Regions from separate parts of the Homo sapiens genome. Here region 1 is linked to region 2. Evidence: promoter capture Hi-C in 16 types of primary human blood cells and fetal thymus (Javierre and others, 2016). All regions are on one chromosome and are shown on one strand. The core of a region is centred on a gene start or on the middle of the fragment in contact, and the rest is flanking DNA. Distances in the headings are between cores, read along the strand shown. Region 1 has its middle 21 kb from the start of CCDC126. Region 2 holds the start of NPY (neuropeptide Y).

Region 1 (4,283 bases), core at 47-2,546, 710 kb after region 2:
ATTACAGGCATGCACCACCACGCCCAGCTAATTTTTGTGTTTTTAATAGAGATGGGGGTTTCACTATGTTGGCCAGGCTGGTCTCGAACTCCTGACCTCAGGTGATCCACCCGCCTCGACCTCCCAAAGTGCTGGGATTACAGGCATGAGCTACTGCACCCGGCCAATTTTTGTATTAATTTGGAGAAATTTCACTCATCTGATGCCATACTTATATTAAAAAATTAACCATGGTCTGGGTACAGTGGCTCACGCCTGTAATCCACTTTGGGAGCCCGAGGCGGGTGGATCACCTGACATCAGGAGTTGGAGACCAGCCTGGCCAACATGGTGAAATCCCGTTTCTACTAAAAATACAAAAATTAGCCGGGCGTGGTGGCACATGCATGTAATCCCAGCTACTCGGGAGGCTGAGGCAGAAGAATCGCTTGAACCCGGGAGGCAGAGGTTGCAGTGAGCTGAGATTGTGCCATTGCACTCCAGCGTGGGCGACAAAGCAAGACTCCATCTCAAAAAAAAAAAAAAAAGAACCATGAATTTTTAAACATTCACATTGAGGTGTACAACCTGTATACAGTAAAGTGCACAAAGCTTAAGTGTATAACTCAATACCTTTGTGCATGTTTATGCCCATGAAACCCACCACCCAGATCAAGAAATAGATCAGCTCCCCAGTAAGATCTCTCAGGCCCCTTTCTATTCTTTCTGTACCCCACAAAGTAAGCAGTATTCTTTTTTTTTTTTTTTTGGAGACAGGGTCTCTGTAGTCCACGTTGGAGTGCAATGGTGCTTTCTGAGCTCACTGCAACCTCTGCCTCCTGGACTCAAGTCGTCCTCCCACTTCAGCTTTGTATTTTTTGTAGAAACAACGTTTGGCCATATTGCCCAGGCTGATCTCAAACTCGTGGATTCAAGTAATTCACCCACCTCGGTCTCCCAAAGTGCTGGGATTACAGATGTGAGCCACTGTACCCGGCCCTAAAGTAAGCACTAGTCTTACCTCTAGCATCATATACCATGACAATAAAATGATGCCATTAATTGTTTATTGTAATGCATATAATAAATTATTATAATAAAAATATTGCAAATATTTTAATTTTACTATACAAATTGCTTTCAGTTATATTGCAATTTTCTTTTTCTTATTTTTTAAAAAAATTAGAGACGGAGGTCTGGCTATTTTGCCGAGGCTGGTCTCGAACTCCTGGCCTCAAGCAATCTTCCCACCTTGGGCCTTCAAAGTGCTGGGATTACAGGCGTGAAGCACCATGCCTGGCCTATTATCTCTTTAAAAACAATATATCCATAGAATATTAAATTCTGGCCGGGCATGATGGCTCACACCTGTAATCCCAACACTTTGGGGGGCTGAGGCGGGTGGATCACCTGAGGTCAGTTCAAGACCAGCCTGGCCAACATGGTGAAACCCCATCTCTACCAAAAATACAAAAATTAGCCAGGAATGGTGGCTTGTTCCTGTAGTCCCAGCTACTCAGGAGGCTGAGGCAGGAGAATCATTTGAACCCAGAAGGTGGAGGTTGCTGTGAGCTAAGACCGCATCACTGTACTACAGCCTGGGCAACAGAGTGAGACTCTGTCTCAGAAAAAAAAAAAAGAAGGAGAATATTTATTAAGTTGTTTCAAAGTTTTTAATGCTGGGGCATTACAAAAAAAACTAAAATTGGGAGTATGCTAATCAATTTGTTTAAATGTCTCTTCAATCTATCATATCTAGAAAGCATGCTTTATGGAAATGTTTGATGGTTATTTGTACATGAATCATCTCATTTATGAAATTTATATAAACTTTTCTGTTTCTTTGCTCTAATTTCTGCATATTTTATTTGAATGTCATCTTGTTCAGTATACTTTGTTTTAGAACTATTTTCTCTTCCCTAGAAACAGACTCAGAAAAAAAAGAACTATTTTCTCTAAAATTTAAAAAATATTTTCTCAAAAGTGAAACTTGGATATGTAAGGTTTTTTGCTAAAGCTTTGCTAACATTAGTAATAGCAATGAATAGGAATTAATGACATTAGAAATAGTAATACCAAATAACTGTGACTAGTGCAACTTCAAAATAAATTTCATTCTCCCACAAAGCTCACAAATTGCTCTTTGCTTAAAGATCTTCTTTTGTTTTGTTTAACTTTTCTAGTGCATTGTATATCTTGTCTAAATTAAATCCAATTACGTTAACAACATTTAATAAACATTTTCCTCCTGTGTTCAAAAGTGATTTTGTTTATACTTCATCAGGGTGTTCAGTGTTTGGGCAGATCAAGAATACTATATTTAGGCCAGGCACGGTGGCCTGTAATCCCAGCACTTTGGGAGGCCAAGGCAGGTGGATCACTTGAAGCCAGGAGTTCGAGACCAGCCTGGCCAACATGGCGAAACCCTGTCTCTACTAAAAATACAAAAATTAGCTGGGCATTCTGGCATGCACCTGTAATCCCTGCTACTGGGGAGGCTGAGGCATGAGAATCGCCTGAACCTGGCGGTGGAGACTGTAGTGAGCTAAAACCGTGCCACTGCATTCCAGTCTGGGTGACAGAGCGAGACCCTGTGTCAAGAAAAGAAAAAAAAAAAAAGAATAGTGTATTTAGTCTTTGATTTGATCCAGAGAATATCATTGCTATTGGCTGATTAACATCCAACTAATTCGAAGTGGCATAAGTGATTTCAAGAATGTTTCTGGATTTTTGGCTAAAATTATAGCATGTATACTTTATTTTAGCAAGGCCTTTATTGTAGGCTTTATTGTGCTTGGGGTGGAGGATATCACAAAGTTACAGACACACACTACTAGTGCCATATGTGCATCTATAACAGGATTTACTGGTAGAGCACACACAGTCCCCTGAACTCTTGCTATTTCATAACACAGGCCTGGCCTAGATGTTTTTGTTTTATTTTGAGACAGAGTCTCACTCTGTCACCCAGGCTAGAGTGCAGTGGCACGATCTCGGCTCACTGCAACCTCTACCTCCTGGGTTCAAGCAATTCTCCTGACTCAGCCTCCCAGGTAGCTGGGATTACAGGCATGCACCACCATGCCCACCTAATTCTTGTATGCTTAGTAGAGATGAGGTTTCACCATGTTGGCCAGGCTGGTCTCGAACCCCTGACCTCCAGTGATCCACCCACCTGGGTCTCCCAAAGTGCTGGGATTACAGGCATGAATCACCATGCCTGGCCCTGGCCTACATGTTCTGAATGCAACTTGGCCAAAGTCTCTGGGGCCAGCCTAAGGCAAAAGACTAGACATGCCATGAACAGCAGTCGAGAAGACAGGACCTTGCCTCCTCACTGTTACATACTTAAAAATTTTTGAACTAAACGGGAGTGGGGGTGGCTCACGCCTGTAATCCCAGCACTTCGGGAGGCCGAGACGGGCGGATCACGAGGTCAGGAGATCGAGACCATCCTGGCTAACACGGTGAAACCCGGTCTCTAATAAAAATACAAAAAAAAAAAAAAAAAATTAGCCAGGTGTGGTGGCAGGCGCCTGTAGTCCCAGCTACTCGGGAGGCTGAGGCAGGAGAATGGCGTGAACCCAGGGGCAGAGCTTGCAGTGAGCCAAGATCGCGCCACTGCCCTCCAGCCTGGGCGACAGAGCGAGACTCCGTCTCAAAAAAAAGAAAAAAAAGAAAAAAAAAGACAGTGGGGACGACCTAGTTTCTCCAAGAAAGAAAAAAATATATGTATCAAGGGATCTCAGGTCCAGGAAGAACACCAAGTGTAGAGTGACACATCAAGGGTCTTGGGAACAGCCCTGAAGAATCTCTACCTCCTGGGAACATTAGCATCAGCCAGTGGCCTAGCTGTCCCTCTGCAGACAGGCTCAGTCCTGATGAGCCAGCTCCCTGCTAAGCTACCAAAGGAGGGAAAGAAATGTGCTTCCAGGGCCATCCAGACTTCTTCGCTGGCTTGCTTTGGGCAATCTTTTGAATCAATGCTTAAAACTGAGAAATGTTTTCTCACTTTGTGACTTAAGCCAAAAGCCTGAACTTTTTTTTTATAGCAGGTATAAAATCAGTGAAGCATTCCTTAATTTTCTACTTCTTTGTGGGTTTTTTGGTAGTTCAAATATGTGTGTATATATAATTATTCAACATGACTTTCTGCAATCTAGTTGAAGTGAATAATGTAAATATTTCGATTTCTATTTTGTGTATGATTTCTTTTCTCACTTTATTAACCATTATTATTATTTTGAATTATTTTGAATTTTCATCCTGGACAGTGATTGTTATTTATCTGTTTTAAATGTTTA
Region 2 (4,807 bases), core at 987-3,486:
AAAGGGCTTATCCTTTAGATACGGTCAAATGACTAAAATCATTTAATCTCAGTAATTAAAATAAGATATTAAATGATTTAGAACTAAGATCAACCAATTTTGAAAACAAAATTTAAATCCTATGTAATTTGTAAAATAGTTTGGATTTGATTTTTCCCTTAATTGTCAATGTTGAGAGTGAAAATATGGCATTTCATTTTGACTTTCGGAATGTTCAGAATAAAGTTTACAATTTCTCAGATTCCATGTAATCCCTGAATTCATCCTAAAGTTACTGGACCAACGTAAGTTTCTTCTTAATGAAATACCAAGTGGGCACTTTCTTTTCAGAATTCACCAGCTATAAAATAGGGAGACCTCTGCATTTTAGATAAACTGTTTTCAGGCTAAATCTCTAATTATTGGGACTAGAATTTTCAAATATGGGAGTGAGACTGCAAAAAAAACACAGTGAAGAAGAAAAGAAAATAGCTCTATTTGTCTTTTTCTAAATACTGTCATTCAATTAGCCCTGGGCAGGCCGGAAAGTCTGACAATGTCTGTGGCAACCCTGCAGTTTACTCCTTGGTTTGGTTTTCTTTGGTGGTCGTTCTGTTTCTCCTAGACACCTTGCTAGCGTTTCCCCCTACAGCATTTCTCTGGCGCATTCTTGCCCCTTTCACTGGGTACTTTCGAGATTTCTGGACCGGGCCCCACTGCCGTAAGAACCACAACAAACCATAAGAGGTGAGTGAGAGGAGATTGCCAGCCTACCAGCCTGGGGAACCTGAATCTGGGGATCACGACTCTGTGACTGTAGTTGCACAAAATGGAAGGTACCCATTTTGTGTAGAGTGTGCCCTGTACAAACATTTACCTAGAGCTGACTAAGTGCCTGATACTGTCCTGCCCTGGGATAGAGCGAAGGAAAAGAAACAATCCCTTTCCCTAACATCCCCAGGATCTCCTGGTGTGCAGGCACTGGCGCTCCCGGAATCGGTCCCGCGGTCCCACCCACCTCTGCCTGGTGATGAGGTTGATGTAGTGTCGCAGCGCCGAGTAGTATCTGGCCATGTCCTCCGCTGGTGCGTCCTCGCCCGGGTTGTCCGGCTTGGAGGGGTACGCCTCGGCCAGCGCACCCAGGCACACGAGCAGGGACAGGGCGAGGGTCAGTCCGGACAGCCCCAGTCGCTTGTTACCTAGCATCTGCAGGCACAGAAGGCTCAACGGACGGGCTTGGGGATTCAGAGCACCCACGCGCAGCACCTCCCTCCTCTGCCCCCCGCGCTCCTCCTCCTGCTACCACACGCGACCCCCAATCCGCTCTCGTCCCAGTCCCGCAGAGAGAACCCAGGAGTGGCTAGCACCACCTTGCGGGCTCCGGGCGCCGTCCGGTCGGGACCTGCCCCTCTGCTCCACCTGAAAACTTCGCGCAACTTCGTTCGAAGTCTCAGGGACCAAGAAGCGCGCGGCGAGAGTGCAAGGTGGGGGCCCCGCCAGTTTAGCATTCAAAACCGAATTGGAAGTTCTTCCTGCTGGGTCACTTTTCTCCCTTCTTGCCCAAACTCTTGTCTGGGAAGAAAAGTTTCTTCTCTGTTACTTCTGGTCTGCCTAGCTTCAGGGGATCAACGCTGACAGCAGAGATCACCTCGGGGTGACGACTGCGGTGGGGAAGGGGAAAGAGAATTGCTCCCTGGGCCAGAATTGCTCCAAAGAGATTTGGAGCCCAAGAATCCAGGGAGGTGGCAGGGCGCGGGGCTCTAGAGCTCCAGGGATTCCTCACTCGATGGCGCTGCCGGGGAAACCTTCCTACCGCGCACCGCTTCCTGGGCCTCAAGGCGGCGACCCGCAGGGAGACCGCCAGCTGCCTTGGGATAGCGGTCCCGGGTTCTCCCTCCATATCTGCTAAAAGGTAACTCAGAAGAACCGCCCAGCGGGAAGGGCCCGGGAGAAGGGCCGTGGACAATCAGAGGGGAGCAGAGGAACAAGTGGAATTTAGCCGCCAAGAGGGCTGGTCCGCGTCGGGGCGCGGAGCCGGCATAGTCCGCTGGGGAGTGGAGCGCGATCATCCCAGGGCCCCAGGGCTCCACAGAGCGGGAGGCTGCGTCTCTAGCAAGTTCGCGGGCGCCCCGTTCGCTCCCACCCCTAGACAGACGGGTCGTAGCACTCACGGTGGCTGGCGCGCGGGCGTGGCTGGGCGGCAAGTACTATGCTGTCGGGCGAGCGTCTCCGAGGGGTGAGAGCCAGCGGATGGGGTGCAGAGAGCGGGTCGCGACAGGGCTTTTATGGAGCTTCCTCGCCGCGGCAGGAGGGGCCTCGGGCAGTCACGCTTGGGTGACTCCCACCCGCCACTTCCCGCCCCTGAGTGGCGGGGGGAGGGGGCTGGAACCGCAGCCGCACGAGTGTCGACTTAGGGAGCCACCCACACCCCAACCCTCCCGCCCCAGGCACTGCCTGAAGAAGCGGGGCCTGGGACCGCGTGAGCGAGGCAGCGCACTCCGAGCGCGCTGGACAACACCAAAGCCCAAGTATCTGCCCTCGGGCAGTGCCCGATCCCTGCTTTCCTTCTTTCCTTCTTTCCTTCACGCCCCGTCTAGTCCTGCCAGAGATAGGAGCAGCCCAGACGATTCTTGTCTCCTGCCAACAGGACTACCAACCCACTGGGTGCCGGAGTAGGAAGCACCTGAATCCTCTTTGTGGTGGGGCATCTCCACGACTAGCGCGGCATCCTCGCCGGGCACAACTGCGCGCTGTTGGAGTGAGGCAACTGGGCGCACAGATTTTTCCTGTACTTAGAACAAGTCGGAGGCAGCTGCCGGAAGTCTCCGGCTAGAGGGTCCCAAAGCTGCGCTCCCCACCCCACCCCCGCCCGTGGTTTCAGGGGCTTCTGCCCCTTCTCTCAGCTGGTTTTTCTAGATCAGCCTTCCTCAAGTACTCGCTCAGACGCAGCGAGCCAGGCTCGGTCGAGACATGAGTGTGGCGACTCAAAATTCCCCAGAGGGGGAACACGGTAAACCTATTCCCCCAGTTTGCTGAAAAAGAGCCACGCTTCCAGCTTCTAGAGACTCTTTTAAGCTCAATTTTAAAAATATATATTTTTTCTTTTTTGGTCCAAAGTGACGGTGGTTAAATGAACAACAGTTTCTGTCTTATTTACTAACCCTTGTATAGTCCTATGTACGTTCAATTAACGTTGAGAATGTGGGTTCTGATTAAGATGAAACATGTTAAAAACGATGAACATTAATTTGCTCATCGCGTTAAACCTGTTGAATGAATATGCAAGATACAGAAACTATTATTACAGGATCAAGATTTTATGCAGTGGACTGAGATCTGAAAGTTCCGTGAATGAATGCTCCTGTATCTTTCTAAATAAAATGGCATTTTATTTCTAAATGAAATATAAGTCTGAATCTTTCTAAATAAAAAGGCATGTTGGGAAATTAAAGCATTAAGTTCCATGTTATTTTAATGCTAAAAGGACAAGTGATTCTGTTAAACTGACACTTAGTTTTTGTGCTGTTCCAACAGCATTGAATTAAATATCAAAAACCGTGAAGCAAACAATCCTTTGCATGTATGTGTTTGTGTGTTTGTGGGATCAAACTATAATTTTGGAGACCAACATCCCTTTCACTTGGCAACTGCTTCTCTTTCTGTATTACACAAACATATGCTGAGGACACAAAAATCAAGGCTCTCAGAGTTGCTCGGGGGTGCTTACAAGACACAGCCTTCGGTAAAAGTGCAAAACATCTTCTAACTTAGAGCTCTTCCTAGATAAAGGGAAAGTTACAGTCCACTTTTCAATAAAATAATCTTATTTTAGAGTGTATCACAGATTCATATCAATTAAAATCTGAACTTAAAATGTATCACTGAATTTGGGAAAAATTACTTCTAGGAAGGCCCACACCACTATTGAGAGAAGAACACTGTGGAGGCTTGATTAATTTAGCTTAAGATAATGTCATTGATTCTCAAGAATAAGAACTTATTCTGAGGGTTAAGGATTCAGAGAATAAAAAATAGGGGGTGATATGCCCTACATGTGCTTACATCCTTATCTCCTTTCTCTCCAGTCCAAGCCACATCCCCTGGCCAAAATACAAACAAAACCAACTGTTGGCAACTCAACCCTGCATCTTCTCCTAGCTGCTGAGCCATTTCTCTCCTTTGTTTCAAAGTCAAGTTGTTTATTTCTAACAGCTTTGTTAAGATAACATTGAGATACTGTTGAGCTTGTTGAGATTCAAAAGGAGGTGAATCAGTGGAGACTAGAGAAGGTAATGACCGAGAGAAGTCAAATAACCGGTAAAGGTCCATGTGGTTTGCAATTAGGAGGTCTTACTGATAGCAGGTTCATAGCTTGATTCAGATAGAACCTGGACCACATGAAACCCAGTGGTTTCATGACTAAACCTAAGGTAAAGAAGCAGAAGGAATGAATAGATACTGCTGAATATATACAAAGCTACAAATGTGTAAAATATTCAATTGGATATATTCTTACACATATGCATGTGTGTTATATGCTCAGGAAGCCATCACTGAAACCAAGAAAATGAAGATTATACATCACTTCCCCAAATTTCCACATGTACCTTTGTAATTCCTTCCTTTTGCCTCTTCCTCACCCCCTCCTCCATTGATCTGCTATCACTAGAGATTTGTTTGCGTTTTCTAGAATTGCACATAAATATAGTTCCACGGTAGGTACTCTTTGTCTGACTTCTTTCACTTAGCATCATTATTTTTGAATCCACTCACATTGTTAAATGTAGCAATAGTTTATTCTTTTTTATTGCTGGGCAGTATTTCATTA

Evidence for each region. Contacts are between HindIII fragments. The CHiCAGO score rates a contact against its expected background, and 5 or more counts as called.
Region 1: a contact is called between a fragment that was not itself captured here and the fragment with the promoter of NPY in region 2, in 1 of 17 cell types (erythroblasts). The highest score is 5.4, in erythroblasts.

The regions. Positions count from the first base shown.
Region 1 is chr7:23,573,968-23,578,250 of GRCh38, reverse strand. No RefSeq gene overlaps it. Among named protein-coding and RNA genes, the nearest start is that of CCDC126, 21 kb to the left of the region's middle. The HindIII fragment of the contact is 1,405 bases long and covers 594-1,998 here.
Region 2 is chr7:24,281,619-24,286,425 of GRCh38, reverse strand. NPY (neuropeptide Y) reads right to left here and starts at 2,236. Exons shown (of 4, transcript NM_000905.4): 1 at 2,151-2,236; 2 at 998-1,185. The coding sequence starts at 1,185. The region is part of intron 2 of LOC107986777 (a long non-coding RNA gene); the gene reads left to right. The HindIII fragment of the contact is 8,579 bases long and covers 1-4,807 here.